3 separate regions of the Homo sapiens genome follow, and regions 1 and 2 are each linked to region 3. The links are contacts of gene promoters, found by promoter capture Hi-C in blood cells and fetal thymus (Javierre and others, 2016). All regions are on one chromosome and are shown on one strand. The core of a region is centred on a gene start or on the middle of the fragment in contact, and the rest is flanking DNA. Distances in the headings are between cores, read along the strand shown. Region 1 overlaps TVP23C-CDRT4 (TVP23C-CDRT4 readthrough). Region 2 overlaps TVP23C-CDRT4 (TVP23C-CDRT4 readthrough). Region 3 holds the start of PMP22 (peripheral myelin protein 22).

Region 1 (2,700 bases), core at 189-2,688, 180 kb before region 3:
AAGAAGAGAGGCAAGGCCAGTGTGGCCGGGCACAGTGGGTGATGTGGGGAGCTGCTCTGGCCAAGGCTTGTGGGGAGGCAGGGGCCAGATCAAAGAGGATTTGCAGGCCAACATAAGGAACTGGCATTGGCTTCTAAATGGAGGGGGGAATGTTAGGCAGGGGGATGATTTAATCTGATCATGTTTAAAAATAATCACTCTGGGTCCTCTTTGGAGAAGGAGTTGTAGGGTGTGTTAGTCCATTTTCATACTGCTATGAAGAAATACCCGAGACTGGGTAATTTATAAAGGAAAGAGGTTTAATGGATTCACAGTTCCACATGGCTGGGGAGGTCTCCACATTCATGGCGGAAGGTGAAGGAGAAGCAAAGCACGTCTTACATGGCAGCAGGCAAGACAGCATGTGCAGGGGAACTGCCCTTTATAAAACCATCAGATCTTGTAAGACTTATTCACTATCATAAGAACAGCACGGGAAAAACCCACCCCCATGATTCAGTTACCTCCCACCAGGTCCCTCCCACAACACGTGGGGATTATGGGAGCTACGATTCAAGTTGAGATTTGGGTGGGGACATAGCCAAATCATATCATAGGGGAACAAGAGTGGAAGCAGGGAGACCAGTAGCAGGTGTTCAGTAGTTCAGTTAGTAGATGTTGATGTCTTAGAGGAGGCTGGTGGTGTAGAGAAGTTAAATCATGCTGGGTTTGGGGAGGATAATGGGCTGGAGATATTGAATGAAGAAGAAAGAGATGTTAGATGTTTGAACTGGGCAATTCGATGAATGATGATGCCTCTTTCTGAGATGGAAGAGACCAGAGAGGAACATTTTATGGAGTAAGGTCAAGAGTTTGTTTGAACCATGAAAAGTTTGAGAGGTTATTAGATATACAAATAAAGATGTAGTATATTGGCAGTTGGATATATGTATTTGGACTTTGGGAAAGAAGTCAGTCTAGTTAGATGTGGCAAATTGATGAGATGTAGAGCCACAAAACTGATTGCCATCACTTTGGGGATGTGTGGAAATAAAAAAAAAAAAAGAAGGGAACTAGAAATCCTCAATGGAGACAGAAGGAGCTTGCTGAGTGATGGTGGGATTCCACTCCTGTGGCATCATGGAAACCAGGTGGGAGAACATTTCAAGAATGTGAGAGTGAGTGCTCAACTCTATCCATGACCATTGCATTTTGGAAGGTGGAGGGTGAGAGGCCTGAGCTGCAAGTGGAGAGGTGTTCTTTGACAGGAATACAGATGCCTCATTCATAGTAGTGGGAAGGAAGGCATAGTGCAGGGGAGCTTATGGTGGAGAGTTGGTACGAGTGATGGTGGGAGATGAGGGAGTTCTTGATGGATTCTTGGATTTTTCTCAAAGCCGGGCAAGACAAAGACAACCTACAATGGAAGGAGAAGGAGGTGAAGAGGAGGTTTGAAATAGTTGCTTGGTGGGAATATAAAATATTTAACTTCTATTGAAAAAAGTATGAAAATTTCTTAAAGAACTAAACATAGAACTACCATTGGACACAACAGTTCCACTACTGGGAATCTACCTGAAGGAATATAAATCATTTTATCAAAAAGACACCTGCACTCATATGTTTATCCCAGCACTATTCATAATAGCAGTCATGGAATCAACCTAAGTGTCCACCAATGGTTGACTGGATAAGAAAAATGTGGCATATATATGCCATGGAATACTATGCAGCCATGAGAAAGAATGAAAGACTGTCCTTTGCAGCAATATAGATGGAGCTGGAAGCCATTATTCTAAGTAAACTAACCCAGAAGCAGAAAATAAAATATCACATGTTCTCACTTATGACTGGGAGGTAAACGATGTGTACACATGGACATAAAGGTGAAGATAACAGACACTGTGGACTCCAAAAGGGAGGAGGATGAGAGGAGGGTGAGGGTGGAACAATTACCTGTTGGGTACAAAGTTCAATATTTTGGGTGATGGGTTCACCAGGATCCCAAGCCCACCATGACACGATATACCCACGTAACAAACAGGCACACGGACCCTTGAATCTAAAATAAATATAATATTAAAAAAAGAAAGAGTTGCTTGGGGAGTGGAAAAGTGAAAAGAGTAGGAAGGGAGAAGTGTTGGTTGGACTACCTCTGTTGATTGACTTGGAGATAGAGGAGCAAGTGTGTGGAATTATAAAGAAAAGGATTCTGCAGCTAGACTGCCTGAGGGCAAATCCTGTTTTTTGTCACCTAATTGTTGTGTGACCTTGGACAGGCTGCTTAATGTCCCTACAGGCTCCAGTTTACTTGCCTGTGAAATGGGGTTAATACAATAGTACCTAATGCATATGGGTTTTGTTAGGATTTAATTAGTCACTATAGGTAATACACTTAGCGTGTGCCCTGGTCACACCACACGGCATAGAAATGTTAGCTGTTACTCCACGTGGGACCAATCGGCACAGTGGCGTTTTCCTCTCACCAAGTTTAGTTGCTGAGATGACAGCACCCAAAAGAGCCCCACAGGTGGATTGAACTGGTATTAAGGCTTTGCCATGCAAATATGTGTGAAATAAGAGTGAGATGCTTGCAGCTTAGATTTTGGATGTAGCATCGTTATTGGGGATGATAAGAACAGTGGCCTGATCACAGAGGCACGGGTGGTGGAGACTGAGAGGAAGACCTGGTGATTGGAAATGAGCAGGTCAAGGACTGCT
Region 2 (2,700 bases), core at 63-2,562, 210 kb before region 3:
TTTGAGGGGGCATCAGGTCTTTCATCTATAAAATGGGAGAAGTAAGAATATGGATCTCATAGAGGTGCTGCTAGTTCCTGAGTTAGGATTTGTAAAAGTTTAGAAATGGGCCTGACACATATACATTTGTAATAAGTGTTAGCTTGTGTTATAAATGCCTCATCTGGAAACAAGATAGCTAATAACCCCAAAAGTGGTTTTCAGCTGGCGAGGGAGAGTAGTAGGGGGTCATCTTGGAATCATGATATTTAATGATTATGATTATTTTACTTATTTGGAATTTCAAATAAGATAAAAGGAAGGAACGAGATTTTCTTTTTTTCAAAAGATGGATTGCGTTATAAAAAAGGTTGCAAAAGCCTGTCCTACTAGACAATGCACTTGGGCGTGCCTACACCTCTGTGCATTATTAATTCTAGCTTCATTTCGTAGGGAGTATATGCTGTGTCAAGTGTTTTTGGCATGCAAACGGGACTATTCTCCTTGGCAAGCTAGGCTCATCCACTTACAAAGGAGAAGCTAAGAGTAAAGCTTTTGCATGGCCCTTGGACAGTTTATGAACCTCTCCACAACTGTTATTTCTCTAGTTTAATACTAAAGGCATTCTTGCAAGGTGACTAGGGCAGACGTTATTATAATTTCCTTTCTATAATGAAGACATTGAGCTCTTAGGGAGGGAAAGGGAGCTTCCTAAGGGTCACACATTGTAAAAGGCAGAACCTACTTCCTACTGTGCCATAAACTGCTTGGAACTGGAATACTTACTGCCTGGGTCTCACAGGTGGTTAGTAGCCATGGGAGAAACATGCTAGGAAAAAATCACTGCAGAGTGGCTCAGGAGGCTGGGACCTGCCTTATGGGATAAGTATGGGCATATGGTGCCCTTTCATCTGGGCTGGAAAAGACAGGGAGAAGTATCAAGTTTCTCTTCCTGTAGGAAAACCACTGGCTTCTGGCATTGGTCCATCTTCAAGGAATTTTGCATTGAGGTAGCAACTGATCAGTGGTTATTTCCTGAACATTTTCTGTCTAGGACTTTGATGTATGCACAGGGGTTGTTGGAGATCAAGGGAGCCACAGGCCACTTCAGAGTTCCTGGAACTGTGAAAAGCAGAAACAAGAAAACAAAGTTCCAAGCTCACTGAGATATTCACAATGCTTACATTGAAAAATAATGCTTGTCAGTCTACTAAAAATGCAGTGTCATATTATCATATGATCTTAAGTTAATTGCAGGATTTCTAAAAATTAATAATTTAGTAGTGTATGGCAGGAGGCCTGCCAGCCCTGTGTGCCTTGGATGTGGGGCAACTAAAGCGCACTCCCCACTTTTAAGAAGCCATTGACCCAGTGGAGTAAACAAACATGAACAACCAACAATATCACAATGAAATAAGTGTGAGTGGTATGTCAGGAGAGCCCCAAAGAGGGAAGATCAGAAAAGGCCTGACAGAGGTGAAGCTGGGCTGGGAGGAAGGGAAGTGCCTCTTGATTGAGGCTCTGCTCTTTCTCCTCTTCCCTTCTTCCTGTGTCTCCTCACTTTCCTTCCACCAGATCCTTTCCACTTCCCCAGCCCCGCTATTGTCTGGTCTTAGAGGGCAGGAAAACGAGGTCTGCTGGTCTGCTTTCAGATTTTGTTTAACTATAGAAGTGCTTTGGTTTCTTTGTGGTTTCTTTGAGCTTTTCAGTGAGAAAGAAGAAGGCAGTGGGAATACATTGGAAATAAACTTATCAGTGCTTTGTAGCATCACCACTGTGGTGTGATTGCCCCTTGAGGCGTGTGAGAGGAAAGGTGGAGGAAGATGAGGCTGACAAGGTTAAGTGGGGCAGAGTGCTCTGGCACTACTGGGATTGTAGGGAGGGGAACCGAGGGACATCATGGCACAAATCTGGAACCCGAGCAAAGCGAGTTTTCTGAAAGATAACTCCAGCAGTGATGTGGAGAATTCTTTTAATGGCAAGAGACCAGATGCTGTGGTTACCTTGCAGAAGCAAGGTGGATCCCCACCCTAAATTTAGTTTGGATGTCAAGATTGACGCCATCACACATACCAAGAGAGCATGCACATGTTTATTACTTACATCAAGCTTGTCCAGCCCACAGCCTGCGGGTCGCATGTGGCCCAGGATGGCTTTAAGTACAGCCCAACACAAATTTATAAACTTTCTTACAACATTTTGAGATTTTTTTTTTTTGCTAGTTGTTTTTTTTTTAAGCTCATCAGCTATCGTTAGTGTTAGTGTATTTTATGTGTGGCCCAAGACAATTCTTCTTCCAGTGTTGCTCAGGGAAGCCAAAATATTGGACGCCCCTGACTTACATGATGAGGCTTTCTGGGGAAGAACAGGGAAGACATCCCAAGCTAGTTCAAAACAGCTTGGGAGAGCAAGAAAAAAGACTGGCTTGGGATTTGATTTTCATTTATTTTTATTTTTAGAGATGAGGTCTCACTATGTTGCCCAGGCTGGTCTTGAACTCCTGGGCTCAAGCAATCCTCCCACCTTGGTCTCCCAAAGTGCTGGGATTACAGACATGAGCCACCATGCCCGGCCAAGGCTTGGAATTTTTTTTTTTTTTTTTTGAGACGGAGTCTCGCTCTGTCGCCCAGGCCGGACTGCGGACTGCAGTGGCGCAATCTCGTCTCACTGCAAGCTCCGCTTCCTGGGTTCACGCCATTCTCCTGCCTCAGCCTCCCGAGT
Region 3 (2,700 bases), core at 27-2,526:
TGGACAACGAAACATCCAGCGGGGAGAAAGACACTGGAAATTACCCATACCTGAGCCCCATCCCAAAACACCTGAGTCAGCTTCTCTGACCATGGCCCAGGCTAGGTCATTTGCAAAGCTCTTGAGTGATTCTAAAGAACCACTGCTGTGAAAAATAAAAATGATTTCAGCAAAGAGAGAAAGGTGAAACTATTTTATTGGCACTGGCTGTGATGCTGGCTGTGAGCAGATGCTGGCTGTGGGCAGAACAGGGGAGAGGGCCATTGAGAGGCCCTTGTGACTGGAGAGTCCAATCAAACGTAAAGTGTGTGACAGGGAGGGACTCCTCCAAATTCTGCAGGTCTCTCCAGACTGGGGATCCCTAACACAAGAGGAAGTCTTATGCCCCAAGTGCCAGAATTCCAGGAAACTCATGCAATGAAACCAGTCCTCTTGTGTCAGAGTTTGCAGCTAGAAGCGGTTCAAGGGATGGAGGACTCTCTGGGAGCTGGAGTGGTACGCTGCAAAGAACCTAAATATGCCATAACTTCCTTTACTTCCCTCTCCAAGAATTTCCAATTGCTCTTCCAGCCTATTCTGCCTGACAGGTTAGAAAGTTTTCAATAGTTTTCAATAGAGGTTCGTTTACTTGCATTGAATTATCTCATGAAGGTCAGCTTGATTCGGGCACATTAAAGACAGAGTCGGAAGAACACATTTCCCTAAGTTTTATTCTAATGTACAACACATGTGATCATTTGCGATGGGGTCTAGGCAGACAAGGCAGGTAACAGGGAGTCCTTCCAACCAGGGGTTGGAACAAAGGAGGCTTGATTTGGTGACTCTTGAGACATTTGGCTCACTGCTGTGATGCTGTGAGAGATTAGCTGTGCAATGTTTGGGCTCCTTAAAAGGAAGTTTATTTAAAATAAAACTTACCTGCACGTATGTAACACTGTAGACACAGATCCTTCCCACAGTATATTTAATCTCTGCAGAATTCACTGGGAGGGGAGGGGAGCCAGTGGGACCTCTTGGCTATTACACAGGTTGGCACTTCCAGAGAGAACAGTCTTGGCATCACAGGCTTCAGGCATACTCAAAGCTCTTCTCCCTTCTGATTCCAGTTTCTCCATGCCCTGCAGGGCCTCTTGGGATTATTGTATTCTGGAAAGCAAACAAAGTTGGACACTGTCTCTTTAAATAATAGAGGCTGAGAACCTCTCAGGCCACCATGACATATCCCAGCATTGGACCAGCCCCTGAATAAACTGGAAAGACGCCTGGTCTGGCTTCAGTTACAGGGAGCACCACCAGGGAACATCTCGGGGAGCCTGGTTGGAAGCTGCAGGCTTAGTCTGTCGGCTGCGGGTCTCTGACTGCCCTGTGGGGAGGGTCTTGCCTTAACATCCCTTGCATTTGGCTGCAAAGAAATCTGCTTGGAAGAAGGGGTTACGCTGTTTGGCCGGGTGAGTTTTATTGGCAAACTGTGCCTCTGGGTGATGTGTGCCTATGCTTTACAAGAATTGCCTAATTTCCCACCCCCTGCAAGCCGCAAATGAAAAGGATTGCAGGAGAGATGGTGCATTTGTGTTGGAATTGACTGGAGATTCAGAGGGCTTTTTATATCCTTGGTTAAAAGGTGGATATATACTCTGGCTGGGGAGGTGGGGGGCCATCTGAGAGCATCTAGAAACCCTAATGCATCCAGATTGAAAGGAAGAAAGGAATCTAGATGCTTTTTCCCCCATGGAAAATAGCTGTGCACACACAGCTGGCAGGTGGCCTTGGTAAGCAGGTTAGGGAGAAGCTGCCACCTGTGGCAGAGCCTTGGCCAGCCGGGCTCTGGGTGTGGCAAGCCTGGTCAGCAGGCACTGAGTAGCACTTCCTCTGCCACCATTGAGAACCAGGCAGGAGGCCAGAGGCAGTGAGGGACAGATGGGTTGGGTTTACCTGTCTGGCAGTATATGGTGTGGCTGTGACCTGGGTGGTTATTGATTAAACTATTGGGTTCAAAAGAAAGGAAGAAGCGAGCTGTAGCACCCAATATATGCACTTTTCTGTATGTGTATTAGACTTTATTAAAAAGTTTATTTGAAAATCACAAAGGAAGGGAAAGAAAACCCTGAGTTAGATATGCTCATATTTCTAAAGTGCTTACTTAGAACAGTCCTGAGTATGTTGTGATCACATAAGTGTTGGTTAAATAAATAAATGTCCAAATGGCATAAAACAAAGTAATAATTTCTAGAGCAAATCTAACTTATAAAATGACCTGTGGAGGAAAGAAAACACTGCCATGTCTTTAGACTTTTTTTTCTACTTGCATATGCACTTTCATTTATAAATCTTTATCTATCTATCTATATCTATCTATCTATCTATCTATCTACCTACCTACCTACCTACCTATCAGAGTTACAAGCTACTTTAGTGCAGAGGTGGTCAGGTCTTCCCTGAAAGGTTGATGTGAGAGTTAAATGTGATATAATAATAGTGGTGGCAATTTGGGCACTGGGCCCTTATTATGTTGCAGACACGATGTTAACTGCTTTGTACATATTGTCTCCTTCAATCACCACCATAAACCTTTAAAGCAGGCATTACTATTTCCTTTTGCACCTGAGAAAACTGAAGCTCAGTGAACTTGAGAAATTGCCCAAATTCACAACAAAAGTAAGCAGGGTGATTAGGTTTGTTGGAGCCCAGAGCCAGAGTGCC

Evidence for each region. Contacts are between HindIII fragments. The CHiCAGO score rates a contact against its expected background, and 5 or more counts as called.
Region 1: a contact is called between a fragment that was not itself captured here and the fragment with the promoter of PMP22 in region 3, in 1 of 17 cell types (endothelial precursors). The highest score is 8.5, in endothelial precursors.
Region 2: a fragment that was not itself captured here is called in contact with the fragment with the promoter of PMP22 in region 3 in 11 of 17 cell types (endothelial precursors, erythroblasts, M2 macrophages and 8 more); the score reaches 13.3 in endothelial precursors.

The regions. Positions count from the first base shown.
Region 1 is chr17:15,448,919-15,451,618 of GRCh38, reverse strand. All of the region lies in intron 4 of TVP23C-CDRT4 (TVP23C-CDRT4 readthrough), which reads left to right. The region is part of intron 2 of CDRT4 (CMT1A duplicated region transcript 4); the gene reads left to right. Among named protein-coding and RNA genes, the nearest start is that of CDRT4, 17 kb to the left of the region's middle. RefSeq lists an enhancer at 2,297-2,700. The HindIII fragment of the contact is 2,897 bases long and covers 1-2,700 here.
Region 2 is chr17:15,478,149-15,480,848 of GRCh38, reverse strand. All of the region lies in intron 4 of TVP23C-CDRT4 (TVP23C-CDRT4 readthrough), which reads left to right. Among named protein-coding and RNA genes, the nearest start is that of CDRT3, 8.7 kb to the right of the region's middle. The HindIII fragment of the contact is 1,557 bases long and covers 534-2,090 here.
Region 3 is chr17:15,263,902-15,266,601 of GRCh38, reverse strand. PMP22 (peripheral myelin protein 22) reads left to right here and starts at 1,276. Exons shown (of 5, transcript NM_000304.4): 1 at 1,276-1,448. LOC124903931 (a long non-coding RNA gene) reads right to left here. Exons shown (of 2, transcript XR_007065632.1): 2 at 693-1,146. The HindIII fragment of the contact is 20,659 bases long and covers 1-2,700 here.